Linked DNA regions of Homo sapiens: all the other regions are linked to region 5. Evidence: promoter capture Hi-C in 16 types of primary human blood cells and fetal thymus (Javierre and others, 2016). All regions are on one chromosome and are shown on one strand. Each heading gives the region's core, a stretch centred on a gene start or on the middle of the fragment in contact. The rest is flanking DNA. Distances are from core to core; before and after follow the strand shown. Region 1 has its middle 32 kb from the start of MRPL32. Region 2 overlaps HECW1 (HECT, C2 and WW domain containing E3 ubiquitin protein ligase 1). Region 3 overlaps C7orf25 (chromosome 7 open reading frame 25). Region 4 has its middle 30 kb from the start of C7orf25. Region 5 holds the start of COA1 (cytochrome c oxidase assembly factor 1).

The links. The method cuts DNA at HindIII sites, captures the fragments that hold promoters and counts their contacts. A CHiCAGO score of 5 or more calls a contact.
Region 1: a contact is called between a fragment that was not itself captured here and the fragment with the promoter of COA1 in region 5, in 4 of 17 cell types (naive B cells, naive CD4 T cells, naive CD8 T cells and 1 more). The highest score is 7.9, in naive B cells.
Region 2: a contact is called between a fragment that was not itself captured here and the fragment with the promoter of COA1 in region 5, in 1 of 17 cell types (total CD4 T cells). The highest score is 5.1, in total CD4 T cells.
Region 3: a fragment that was not itself captured here is called in contact with the fragment with the promoter of COA1 in region 5 in 11 of 17 cell types (total B cells, total CD8 T cells, naive CD4 T cells and 8 more); the score reaches 10.5 in total B cells.
Region 4: a contact is called between a fragment that was not itself captured here and the fragment with the promoter of COA1 in region 5, in 2 of 17 cell types (naive CD8 T cells and total B cells). The highest score is 6.5, in naive CD8 T cells.

Annotation. Positions count from the first base shown.
Region 1 is chr7:42,963,048-42,965,747 of GRCh38, reverse strand. No RefSeq gene overlaps it. Among named protein-coding and RNA genes, the nearest start is that of MRPL32, 32 kb to the right of the region's middle. RefSeq lists an enhancer at 354-413. The HindIII fragment of the contact is 273 bases long and covers 1,228-1,500 here.
Region 2 is chr7:43,176,090-43,178,789 of GRCh38, reverse strand. The region is part of intron 2 of HECW1 (HECT, C2 and WW domain containing E3 ubiquitin protein ligase 1); the gene reads right to left. Among named protein-coding and RNA genes, the nearest start is that of MIR3943, 27 kb to the right of the region's middle. The HindIII fragment of the contact is 566 bases long and covers 1,054-1,619 here.
Region 3 is chr7:42,907,491-42,910,190 of GRCh38, reverse strand. C7orf25 (chromosome 7 open reading frame 25) reads left to right here. Exons shown (of 2, transcript NM_001099858.2): 2 at 1-918. The coding sequence ends at 556. Among named protein-coding and RNA genes, the nearest start is that of C7orf25, 3.2 kb to the left of the region's middle. The HindIII fragment of the contact is 1,035 bases long and covers 804-1,838 here.
Region 4 is chr7:42,880,944-42,883,643 of GRCh38, reverse strand. No RefSeq gene overlaps it. Among named protein-coding and RNA genes, the nearest start is that of C7orf25, 30 kb to the left of the region's middle. The HindIII fragment of the contact is 1,163 bases long and covers 716-1,878 here.
Region 5 is chr7:43,728,041-43,730,799 of GRCh38, reverse strand. It overlaps COA1 (cytochrome c oxidase assembly factor 1), which reads left to right and starts at 1,277. Exons shown (of 6, transcript NM_018224.4): 1 at 1,277-1,371. RefSeq lists enhancers at 967-1,166, 533-1,261, 1,262-1,991. The HindIII fragment of the contact is 9,306 bases long and covers 624-2,759 here.

The DNA.
Region 1 (2,700 bases), core at 115-2,614, 770 kb after region 5:
CCATTTAGATGATTCTCTCCCTCCAGACAATGGCAAGAGTGCACTTCTCTGCTATAGGATAGAAAAATAACAGTGTTTTCCCTGCTCTCTACTCTCAGTCACTCAGTGCAACACTTCTGCCACCAGTTGTACAGGGGTTTTCCCCACATGAAGCAATTCTTACCCCACATGAAGCAATTTCATGTCCTCTCTGTCTCCTCCAGGCACCTCCATGTGTTCACCTATGTGGAAGCTCCCCAAACCCAGTCGTTTTGGGTTTTTATGGAGGCTTCATTACATAGGCATGATTGATTACATTAATGCCCATAGGTGTCAACTCTACCTTCAGCCTTTCTCCCCTCCCAGGAGACTACAGGATGGGGCTGAAAGTCCCAACTCTCTAATCATGCCTAGGTCTCTCCCATGACCAGTCCCCGTCCTGAAGCTATTTAGGGGCTGCTAGACAGTAGTCATTCATTAGCATACAAAAGACATTCTTGTCACTCCAGGAGCTAGCTCTTATCACGTTTAGGAGCTGTATGCCAAGAAATGGGGACAAAACCCAAATATATATTTCACAATATCACATCCACCCACTTGAATTTTGTCTTGCCAATAAAATGTAAGTGATGTGCACCACTTTTCTGTGAAATTGTTAAGAGGAAGCATGATTCACCTTTCTCTCTTTTCCCTTTGCCAAGGCTACAAAATGTTCTAGATGGTGGCTGCTCCTTTAGCAAGGATCCAAGTCAGGATGACAGGGACACAAAACAGAGCTCCTGGCTGACTAGCAAAGGGCACGTAACATGAGCCTGACATAGACCTTTGTTGTATAAAGTCGCTGAGACCTTGTGTTAGTTTGTTGCCATAGCTTAACACAGTATCCTGACAGATACATAAACAGGCACGCAGAAATAGAAAGCGTTTGGGATATAGAAAATGATTCTCCCAAATATGGCACTTGGGCATACTGCATGCTTTTGAAAATTGAGGCCCAGTGCAGTGGTTCATGCCTATAGTCCTGGCACTTTGGGAGGCCGAGGCGGGAGGATTGCTAGAGCCCAGGAGTTTGAGACCAGCCTGGGCAACATAGTGAGACCTGTATCTTAATAAAAAGGAAAAAGAAAGAAAATTGAAAGGACTCAGAAATAAGCCTCAGAATCAAGGTCCCTCTAACCCTCTTCTCCTTCCTTTCGACAGCAGAGAGAGGGACTGTCTCTGAAATTTCCTTATCTAACCAAGAAAGCTTCTTGCCAAAAGAAATACAATTGCCTGTTCCCTCCCTGTTACCTCATTATCTACAGCAGAAAAGAAGGTTGAAGAATGTAACCACACCTGGATAAACTTTTCCACAAGATAATGCCTGCCTCTCCACCTCACATTCTAAAGATAATCATCATTTACAAGTTAATTTCTGTATCCCTGGTCCATTCATTTTCCCTAATAATCGTTTACCACCCTTTAAAGAACTGGCTACATTCCCTATATCCTTCCTCCTCTATGAAAAAGGGTATAGAAGCTTCTGTACCCCATTAGGAGATTGGGGTAATCACTGTTTGATTCCCTCACCCACATGTTAATAAATTTGTATGCTTTTTCTCCTATTAATCTGCCTTCTGTCAGTTGATTTTCAGTGAACTTTTACAGAATGCAGGGGAAGTTTCCCTTGGCCCCTACAGTTTTGCACTGTGAGCAGGATAGCAAAACTGCTCTGCTCTTCTGGAAGCCACAGTCAAGGGAGCCCAGGACTCAACAAACCCGTAGGATAAGAAATTCTTACCAGCCAGGCTCCAAGCCTCTCTTTGTGCAATCTGGTCCAGTAGACAGTAAAAGTCACTGTCCCTTTCCCTCTCCAAAGTCTTTTTTTTTTTTTTTTTTTTTTTTGAGACAGAGTCTCACTCTCTTGCCAAGGCTGGAGTGCAGTGGTACGATCTTGGCTCACTGCAACCTCTGCCTCCCAGGTTTAAGCAATTCTTGTGCCTCAGCCTCCCGAGTAGCTGGGATTACAGCCATGCACCACCACTACCTAGTGGTGGTGCTAATTTTTGTGGTTTTAGTAGAGATGCGATTTTGCCATGTTGGCCAGGCTGGTCTCAAACTCCTGACCTCAGGTGATACACCCACCTGAGCTTCCCAAAATGCTGGGATTATAGGAGTGAGCCACCGTACCTAGTTGAAAGTCTTGATTAATGGAGGAAAAGGATTTGTGAGCCTAGTCTTAGGTGTAGCAACTCTGGTGTACTTTTTGGTATGAAAATTCATATTGTCTTTTTCCTCCCAGAAATAGTCTTGTCTTTTGTCTTTGTCTTTCTGTGTTGTTCTGTCATAAAGAGGGATTGTGTCAATATGAGATAATAAGAAGGGTCAAAATCTAGTTTTAAAGAGTTTAATCAAGAAGAAAGCTGGGAATGGCCATTCTGGGACACACAGATTTCAGAGAAATAGGATCAGTGCTCTGAAGTTAAAAGTTAAGTTTTTGCTTATATAGGAAGAAGACAAAGAAATTTAACAGGATTATATTTCCTATATACTGGTTTAAGAGTTATAACAAATTAATTAGTTAGAGTTTGTTTTCTTTTCTGTATGGCTTGTTTTATTCATAGCTGATTTTCATTTCCTTTCCAATTTAAAAGAGTATGTTTAACATTCCATCTTAAGACAATGTGGTAGTCATGAAGTCTTTGTGTGAGAAAGGTGAGAGGGAGGTTAATCTACAATGAA
Region 2 (2,700 bases), core at 87-2,586, 550 kb after region 5:
AGCGGCTCTGGTAGTGAACCACAGTGATTCAAAGCATACAGTCCCCCTTGCTGCCCAACCTCTAGCTGTGGCACCTTGGACATGTTTCTTTCCATCTTTCAGCCTCCACTTTCTCACCTTTAAATTAGGGATGTGAGAGAACGCAAGACAAGGGGCGAGTGTGAGGAGGCAGCGCTCTGCACAGTGACCAGTGCCTAATAAGCATTGAGGAGCTCAACACATGTGAGCTATCATAGAAAGCAGCAGCTTTACAGAAAGCTGTCTGGAGGCCAAGCTGGAGGATCACTTGATATTTGGCACTTTCTTTCATGTTACCAAGTGGTGGCTTATTTAATCCAGTAAATTCCTGGGTAACATGGAATACATCTTACACTAAATTCCTGTCTATCATGAATAGCATTAAAACCAAGTTCCAGTCTTGCACCTTTTATGTGCAAGAAAGCTTGTGGCTCGGTCCATGGGGATAGTTAGATAGAACCCTGCTGGCCAGGTGCGGTGGCTCACGCCTGTAATCCCAGTACTTTGGGAGGCCAAGACGGGCAGATCATTTGAGTTCAGGAGTTTGAGACCAGCCTGGTCAACATGGTGAAACCTCGTCTCTACTAAAATACAAAAATTAGTCAGGCATGGTGGTGGGCACCTGTAGTACCAGCTACTTTGGAGGCTGAAGCAGAATTGCTTGAATCCAGGAGGCAGAGTTTGCAGTGAGTCAAGATCATGCCACTGCACTCCAGCCTGGGTGACAGAGCGAGACTCTGTCTCAAAAACCAAACCAAACCAAAAAAACCCTGCCCACAGGGGCAGGGGAGATCAAACAGATGTCTGAAAAGTTCACAAAGCCAGGATTGGTTAAGTGCTAAAGAAAGATGAAAATAATGTGTTACCAGTATTCAGAAGAGGGAGACAGTGCCTCCTGTAGGGGAGTAAAGGGAAGAACTGAGAAGACTTCAGGAGGAGATGGATAGGTTTGGGATTTGTAGAGAAGGGGAGAAGGCATTGAGATGGGAGGAAGGGTGCCAGCCAGAGTGTTTGTGCCAGACGCTGTGCTAAGCTTCATGTTCACACAGACTCATTTAACCTTCACAAAACGGGTTGAAGTAGGTGCTATTTTTCTTATATTATTAAGGATGAAATGAAGGCTCACAGTGATTAAGTCACTTGCCTAGACTCACACAGGTGACAAGTAGCAGAGCCAGGGCTAGAGTTCAAGTTGTCTGAATCCACAGTCTTTTTTAAAACCACAATACATGGAGAATAAAAGGATGCTGGCTCAAACCCTGGCTGGAAGACAGCACGGGAAAGATGACTGTGGGGAATACACTGAAAAACTTGATGAGGGACAAACTCAGTCCAGACTGCCCTGGGATCAGGCTCAGATCCTGAGATTCTGGTCATTAGGTACTAGGGAACACATGACCTTTTTGAATGAAGGGTGACATGATCAGACCTGTGTACTGGTAGATTCACTGTGGAAGGCCCCACCACCAATGATCAGAGAGAAGAGTGCTGGGACTTGTTCCTACAAAGTTCTCATTAAGCCTCTCTGGGCATCATCCACAGAAGCTGAGCCACTTAATCCCAAATGTGTGAGAGAGCAATATTCTTCCAGGGTCCAAGCTTCTGTTTTCTAGAGTAATAGTTCCAAATATGTTGAATGCCATAGAAAAAAAAAGTTTATATGCAAATCGCAAAAATGTTTGCCTACAATTTCAGGCAATTTTCAACCCTGAAACTCTAGAGGAGTAGTTCTCAAACTATAATGTCATAAAATAATAGCCAGAGAGCTTGTTATAATGCAAATTTTCAAACTCCAGCCTCAAAAATAGTAATCTAAGGGATCTCAGGAAGAGGCCCAGGAGCCTGCAAATGAACAGGCACTGCTTCGTAATTGCAATGCAGGTGGCCTTTAGACAAACTTCTAGAAACTCAGACCTAGGGGCCCCCAGTCCCTAGAGAAAGAGCCCCTATTCTAGAACATCACATAGTGGTATGGTTTGAATGTGTCCCCAAAAGTCAATGTGTTGGAAACTTAGTCCGCCATGCAGCAGTGTTGAGAAGTGAGACCTTCGGGAGATGATTGGGTCAAGAGGACTCTGCCCTCATGCATGGGTTAACCTATTTATGATTTAGTAGATTAATGGATTAATGGGTTATTGAGGGAGGGGGTTAGTTATCACAAGAGTGGGTCTGTTATAAAGCCAGTTTGACCATCTATTGTGAGCCCCCCACTGTGTGAAGGCCCCAGCCACCTCAGGCCTCTGCAGAGTCCCCACCAGTAAGAAGGCCCTCATTAGATGAAGCCCCTCAACTTTGGGCTTCCCAACCTACAGGATTCAAATAAAGAATTTTTTTCTTTATAAATTACCCAGTCTTAGATGTTCAGTTATAGCCACAGAAAATTAACTGAGACACAGATTCATAATGAAAATGGTCCTAAAATACAAAATGAGGACTGCTTCACGACCTCTTATTGAAGTTCTGTTGTATACTCCTTCTGACTGAAGCCTCTTTCTGCTTTCTGAAAAAAATATGGCAGAGCAAAAGGAGACATTGAGAGTTTCTTTTACAGTTCAGCCACAAAGTCCTCTACACACAGTAACAGACTCCAGAATTGAATCCAGGGGTACAAATGTTTGCCATTATTTACCAAATAAATTGCCCATATTTGCCACTTTTTATTTGCAAATGCTGTCTACTGTA
Region 3 (2,700 bases), core at 72-2,571, 820 kb after region 5:
AACAGAAATTAAGGTCGATGTGTGCAAAAGAGTAAATCTGGACATTACTACTTTAATCACATATGTATCTGCCCTCAGCTATGGAGGCTGCCACTTTATTTTCAAAGAGAAAGTGCTCACAGAACAAGCAGAGCAAGAGAGGAAAGAGCAGGTTCTACCTCAGCTGGAGGCCTTTATGAAGGACAAGGAGTTGTTTGCTTGTGAATCTGCTGTCAAGGACTTTCAGTCTATTTTAGATACCTTAGGAGGACCTGGGGAGAGAGAGAGGGCCACTGTGTTAATTAAGCGAATTAATGTGGTACCAGACCAGCCTTCTGAGCGTGCCTTGAGACTAGTGGCCAGTTCAAAAATTAATAGCCGCTCATTAACAATTTTTGGGACGGGAGACACCCTAAAAGCCATCACAATGACTGCTAATAGTGGTTTTGTCAGAGCTGCAAACAACCAGGGTGTTAAATTTAGTGTGTTTATCCATCAGCCCAGAGCACTTACTGAGAGTAAAGAGGCTCTAGCCACCCCCTTACCAAAAGACTACACAACTGACAGTGAACACTAAAGATACCCTTTAAATATTTTTGTGGAAGTAAGTTATTTATACCAAAGGCTGGGTCTTCCCATCTAAACTGGTGGGAAAAAAGGTCTATAGTAAAAGTAAAACTGAGAACTCTTAAACCAGTAGAGTTTCTTTGTCTCTCATCTAAAGTATATAACCTCCCAAAGTAGAAAAAGCACAAGAGAGAAGCTTATCTATCAAACTGTCTGCATTAGTGCAATTAAGAACCGAAATACGTCTATATAAAGCTTTCAGCTGTATTGTAATACTTTGATTCGATAGGGCTACAACTCCCCTACTGCTAACCACATTTCATGGAATATGGCTACATTGCATCTTGCATTAAATATCTGGAGAAAATTCAAGCCTGTTTTTCATTGTATTGCTTTATATGGTTTAGGCTGGGAGGTAGTCGTTGGTAATCAATTTTAGATTCTAAGGTTAACCATTAATGAAAAACTTATTTGCTGTATGTCAGGTGCAGTCTGATAGGTGTTTTTACAAAAAGTACATAATACAGAAGAAATGAGAAAGTGAATTATGGTTATTTGAGTGCCATGAACCCATTGGTAGACCTTTGTGAAAAGAAAGCCAACAATCTTACTACTATAAGATAAAACCAGGACACTTAAGGTAAAATACTAATTTGAATGAATTGAAAAAGGATTATGTAAAAGATTTTAAAAATTCAATACAGAAAGCCCCCATATTATAAGTATTTGAACAATAAATACTATTTTCATGTTTCATTTGCAAGTGGCAAGTGACAACTGCATTACCTTACTTTCATGAGATGGTGACAGAATATTCCATGCCAATTCCATGACACAAGTTGTAGTTAAAAATACACTTCTATGGCTACATTGCGCTAGATACTTTATCAGTTTTCAATAAAGCAAAACTAGCAAAGTCGGTATGTATTCACCACATTTAAAAATTTGGAATTTGAGTCCTGGAGCTTAAATATTAACTCATGCTAAGTGTAGGAGCTGGTATTAAAACTTGATGTTTCTAGCCACAGTCTGATCTCTTTCTACCATGCCAAATGTCGTATTTGTTGAGAAGAGAATCTCAATTTACAGCCACAGTGTTTGTTGGGGTGGAATTTGGTTATTGGCATTCATGAACACCCTGAAATGAATGCAAAATTAAGTGTATGGGGGTGGTTCTCTGGGGAGAGATTGCTTTACTAAGTCAGAATACATTTTCTAGTAGAAAGGCTGTGATTTGCTTCCAGTTTAGTGTAGAGTGGTATATGTCTAGTGTTAGAAATGGAATTTAAGCTTTTTGAGCATCTATTAAGGTCATGTAGTACTTGATACTATTAAGTACCAAGCATTATAATAGTTTGGTGTGAAAAGATGAATGTTTGCTCTAAGGAATTCTTAAGTCTAAAGTGGAAGTAAACAACTGAAGTGCAATTAAATGTACTAAATTCTCTAGGATATGTTGAAAATACTATGGGGACAGAGTAAAGGAGTACTTGTTATGGGGCCAGGAAGTCAGAGAGGAAGTGTTGTTTGAGGGTTTGGGGTGTGAAATTTCACAAGATGTGTGAGAAAGGGTACTCAAAAGTACATGGAGGAATGGGATTGGAAAAGTACCAGAACTGTGACTATGAGGACCTGTTCAGGGACCAGGCTCAAGTGGACAGTTTATAAAACAAGATGGAGCTAGAAAAAAAAGTCAAAGTTCTCTAAAGAGTTTGGCATTAGAGAGCCATTGGTGATTTTTAAGAAAGTGTGGCTTATGATCAGGTCTCTTAAGGAAACCACAAAAATCTGTAGTGTGGATAAAAATTGAAAGAAAGTTTGGACTATAATGACCTTAGCTAGAGCAGGAATGATGGACTGTAGAGTCATGGATACATGTTGGATTTGTTTGAGGCAGAATTGACATATTAATGTACTCATTCGTTTAATAAGCATTGAGTGACAGCCATGTGTCAGACACAGTACAAAGGGCATGGCATATAAAAGACTTGTTTTAAAGGAGCAGAAAGAAGGTAGATTTCTATCCCTGCTCCCTATGAATCAATCAATACCTAAGAACTTGGGATCTTTGCCAACTAGAAAGTGGACAGGCCACAGCACTCTTTAGGAAACTGCTTTGTGAAGTGACCACAGCTGTGCCCTGCCAAAGACCAT
Region 4 (2,700 bases), core at 48-2,547, 850 kb after region 5:
AGGAGGCAGACAGGCTCCTGGGTGGAAATGGGCAAGACCTCGGTGAAACCCCACCTTCAAACTGCAGAGTGTCTGAAGCCTGGGGCCAGGCTGCCGGTCCCATGGACCGAAGTGGGAACTTGTGGTGCTTTTTCTGGGCCCACCCATGGCCACCCATGGACAAATTGGATGCATTTCCTCCCCTCTAAGGCCTAAAATGGCCCCAGACTCAGCCAGACTCGAGGGGACAATGACCTGCCAGCTGTGGAGAGGAGCTGCCCACTCCAGGGTCTCCTCTCTGCTGAGAGCTGGGAAGACAACACAACAATCAGCTGTGGAGAGGAGCTACCTACTCCATGGTCTCATCTCTGCTGAGAGCTGAACACTCACTGGGACACCCTGCCTGCAGAGAAGAGCTACCCATTGCAGGTCTCCTCTGAGCTGTTTTATCACTCAATAAAGCTCCTCTTTGCCTTGCTCACCTTCCACTTGTCTGTGTACCTCATTCTTCCTGGATACAGGATAAGAACTCAAGTCCTGCTGAATGGTGGGGCTAAAAAAGCTGTAACACAAACAGGGCTGAAATGCCCCTGACTCGCCACTTTGCAGGCGACAAGGAGAGAAGACAAAATGATAGAAGAGCTGCAGCCCTTTGGGGAGCACAGACCTAGGAGATCCCCAAGCCAGGGCTGTGACACCCTCTTTCAGGCTCTGTGGTTCCTGGCATCTCCAAGCTTCCAGGTGCCACCATGTTTCCCAGTGCCAGCCACGGAAGCTGCTTGTGGTACACCTGGTCCAGCCACAGCCTAACAGGGAGCTGGCACCTGTGCCAGTGCCTGGAGCTGCCCACCCCACTGCAGCTGGTATGCCTGTCTGTGCACAGTGGCTGGACTGAGTGCTCGCTCACACACCCTTTGCTGCTCTGTGCCTGGCTTGCTTTTGGCAGGCATGGGATCCAGGCTGGTAGTTATAGCTGAGTACAGCCTGCCAGGCCGAGTGGGCAGAATGAGCCCAGCAAGTCCAAGCAAAACTCAGGCAAAGGTGCCACTGGCTACAGAGATTTCTGGATGGCAAAGCAATACCTCAAAAGTCCCATGACACTAGGACTACAGGCAGGCCACCACACTCAGCTAATTTTTAGCTGAATTTTTAGTCTCCCTGTGTTGCCCAGGCTGGTCTCAAACTCCTAGGCTCAAATGATCTTCCTGCCTCAGCCTCCCAAAGTGCTGGGATTACAGGTATGAGCCACCATGCTTGGCCTGTTTTACTTTCTTAATAGTAGTTCTGTAATAACCTGATAGGTTCTTCCTGCCTGCTGCACAAACAACGTCAATCCACTGAGACCATGACATTGCAGTAAAGAAAGGGTTTAATTAACCCTTGGCTGGCCATGCCACATGGGAGACAGTTATTACTCAAATTAATCTCTCCAGAAATTTGTAGACTAGGGTTTTCCAAGGAGAATTTGTTGGGCAAGGGTATCCAGAAGGGGACATCCTGATTAGTTGAGGATGCAATCATAGGGGTGTGGAAAATGATCCTTGTGTGCTGAGGCTGTTTCTGAGTGGGGGCTACTAGAGGAGTCCAGGTCCAATGTCCAGGTCCAAGTGGAATCATCTGGTTGTCAGAAATGCAAAAGCCTTAAAAGACATCTCAAAAGGTCAATCTTAGGTTCTACAAGAGTGATGCTATCTGCAGGAGTAATTGGGGAAGTTGCAAATCTTGGGACCTCCAGAATAATGACTAGTAAGTATTTAACTATGCCTACATCTAGCAGAATTCAGACCCCTTTCATCCTCCTAACTTGGTGGCCTTTCATTAGTTTTACAAAGAAAGTTTAGTTTTTGGGAAGGGCTGTTATTATTTAAACTGTAAACTAAATTTCTCCCATAGTAAGCTTGGTCTATACCCGTGAATGAATGAAGACAGCCAGCCTGTGAGGCTAGAAGCAAGATGAACTCAGCCATATTGGATTTCTTTTATTGTCATAGTTTTGCAAAGGCAGTTTCAGTTTTGGTGTCATGTTTGAGAAATAGTTGCCTCTTCTAAGCTCATGAAGATATTGTCCTATATTTCTTATAGAAACTTGATTTTCTCAGCTTTCCTAAAGTAGGGGGCCAAGGTTTCTTGTTTTTGTTTTCCATGTACCTTTTCCCACTGAATTGCAGTGGAGTTCCCTCTCTCCCCATTAGGGTGTGGGAGACTTGTGGGTCTGTTTCTGGACTCCTCTTCCTATTGGATTGGTCTGCTCCATATTCTAGTACCAGTACTGCACTGTCTTAATTTCTGTAGTTTTCTAATAGGCTTTATATCTCATGGTTTAAAATATATGAGCTTTGTTCTACTTCCTTACGTCCTTGGACATTCTAGGCTCTCTGCATTTCCGTATGAATTTTAGAAACAGCTTGTCTGCTTTGAGGGAGCCTAGCCAATGGGGGAAAAAGAGAAGAATCGGCTTGTTAGTTTCTACCCCCCCACCCCGCCCAACCCCCAACACAACAACAGAAAACCAAGGGAGTTTTAGTGGGATTACATTGAATTGCATTGAATCTATAGACCAATTCTGGGAGAACTGACATCTTAACAACATTGAGTTTTCCAGTCAAGGAACAGACACATCCTGTTTACTTAAGTATTTCAAACATTTTCTTATTAATGTTTTGCAGTTTTTTGTATAAAAGTCTTACACATTTCTCATTAGATTTATTTATAAGTGATTTA
Region 5 (2,759 bases), core at 28-2,527:
GAACGTTGTATGAAATGCACATATACCAAACCTCATAAGCTTTTTATTAGTTGATTTATTCTTTGAAATATTAAGCTTGGTGTAAGGTATTATAACCTCAATCTCTTTGAAAATGTAATAAGTCAATAATCAATGTTGCATCAATGAATATTACTCAGTGGATGCCTATTTTATTTCTTCTTTTTCTCTAAGAACCATTTAAATAGTCCTTATGGCCGAGCACTTCACAATCTGATTAGTTTCTATTAATTCTTTGGAAAAGAAACATTCTGGGAAGTCAGAATTCAGCGGTAGGTTGCTTTGATAATGTGCTCATTTAGCTAGTGGATTCCAGAGTGATAGAATGTATGTTTGGCAACCTAATTGTTGTGGAGGAAGAAAAGAACTTCTGTTAGAAGTTTTTAAAAAAGTTTAAAAATTGTTTTTACCTCATCAAAAGTTTGATGTCTTGTGAGTTTTATAGCATGCATAATATATTAATGCCATACATGACACATGTAAATATATATATATTTTTTCTGATAGGGATGTGTGAGCAAGAGTTTAAAGAAGAATGCCCCAGTCTAAAGTTAATTAGTCTTGGAGTGATGGCTTCGCAGAGGAAAGATACTGGATTTCAAGCTTGACATTAAGGTGATAATAGTGGTGACTATGGAATAATCAATATAAAAATAATAACAGCTAACAGTTACTGAGCGCCTACAAACTGCCAGACACTACTCTAAGTGCTTCACATCCTCATAACAAATTTATGAGGTAAATGCTATTATTATCCACCAGCCTTCTGAAATTTTCTTACCCCGTTACTCCCTGGTGTTAACTGGGTACTTAATTTGTCGAATAAAATAAAATTTAGTGCTGCCAAATTTGTCAGCTGAACGGGGCGGCAGGAATTTCAGTGCTAGAGTGGGGGGCCAGACGGCCCGGGGCTTCGTGTCCTTGGAGGCCAGCGGAAGCGCCGCATACCTGTGAGGAGCAACGTGAGCCGGTGGCTTATATTTCCTGGGCTAGTGCTACTGGACTGAATGCATTTGCAATAACCGGACGCAGAAAAAAAAAAAAAAAGCGGGGACCAGGGGAGGCGAAACCCTTCCCGGCGCGAGTCCGAGCGTCTGAGAAGCAGAAGCCACACGTCCCGGCGACCTAAGTTCTGGATCAGCCGGCCGGAGGACCCGTGTTAGCATTTACAATCCGAGGTGAGCTGAAGCCTCCGGTTGTCCCGGTTCGACGCTCTAGCCCTGCGAGCAGCCGACGCCGGAAGTCTCTACTGCTCCCCGCTGGCGCGCAGGACCGCGGGCATTTACCCGTGCTTTCCCAAGCCTGGAAGAACTCGTCATGCTCTTTGTAGCGTGGTGCTTCTGTTGCTCACAGGTTAGTCTCCCGCGGTATAAGAGTCTCCGTCTTCCCCCCAGCAAGAAGCGTTTGTTCCTGCAATTCGGGGGGCCGCCTTTGCGCGCGGGGTGCGCTGCTTCTTGGAGAGTTCCCTCACGGGTCACATCGCGGAGGTTCGCGCCGGCGCCGGGTCGCGGCCTCCCTGCGCAGCTTCTTTGGCACCTGGTAACCTTCAGTGGCTCCGTCCGCTCGGAGTTAGGAGGCTGTGTCGAGCTAACCTTGACCTTGTCCTGCAGTTTTTGCTGACCATCCCCAACAGCACACTGTAAAGAGTTAGGGTCCTCTCGAAGAGTTGGGACTGGGCACTTTTGTTGGTAGTGCTAAATTTCAACACCCTGAGGAGTACGCTGCCCAAATTATTGTAGGAAAGAATTACCTGGTTTAGTGGTTATAATACTTTTTGTCCCCACCACACTTGAATAACAGAAAAACCCTCCCAACAGGGGCTGACTGCAAAAGTGATTTTCTGTGTAGGGGACATTGGATGTATTTATGTATATATCAGTGCCTATCAGTCTGTATGTGTGTTTGGGGGTGGATGCTGTGTAATTTAAAAAAATCTATGGAGATTCTGATAATTTGATAACCTGTTTCTCCGGTCTTCCCCTGATTCCTCCCCATTCTCCCCGGAGGGCTATTGCTTTATTTCTGAGGTGGCTCACGTTTGGATAGAAGTAGCAACTCTCCGCTTACACCTGCACGTTTAAAACGCATATCAGATTGTGTTATTTCTGTCCTCAGAATCTTCCTGGCCTTCCCGTTGCTTTCAGGATAATACACATTTCTTAGCCTAACTTCAAGGGCCTACAGGGTCTTGATTCTGCTGAGTTTTTCAGTCTTTGCTACTTTCATGGAAAACACACCTGCAGGTACACTCATATTATGCTCCCACCATGCCAGTCTACGGTAATTTAATAACTTTAGATATGGCAAAGTTTTATATGGTTTACTCAAGTTTTAATTTTTGTTCTAGCATTTAGCCAAAATCGATTGAATTCATAATATTGCTAGGCACTGTTTTAAAAACGGGATAAAATGAAAACAAAACAAAACACAAAACAAAAGTCTTCAGTCCTTTAAAAAAATAAAACAGCTTCCTGACACATAGTTCACCTACCGTAGAGTTCACCATTTAAAACGTAGCGGTGCCTCACGCCTGTAATCCCAGCACTTTGGGAGGCCGAGGCGGGTGGATCACGAGGTCAGGAGATCAAGACCGTCCTGGCTAACACGGTGAAACCCCGTCTCCACTAAAAATACAAAAAATTAGCCGGGCGTGGTGGCGGGAGCCTGTAGTCCCAGCTACTTGGGAGGCTGAGGCAGGAGGATGGTGTGAACCCGGGAGGTGGAGCTTGCAGTGAGCCGAG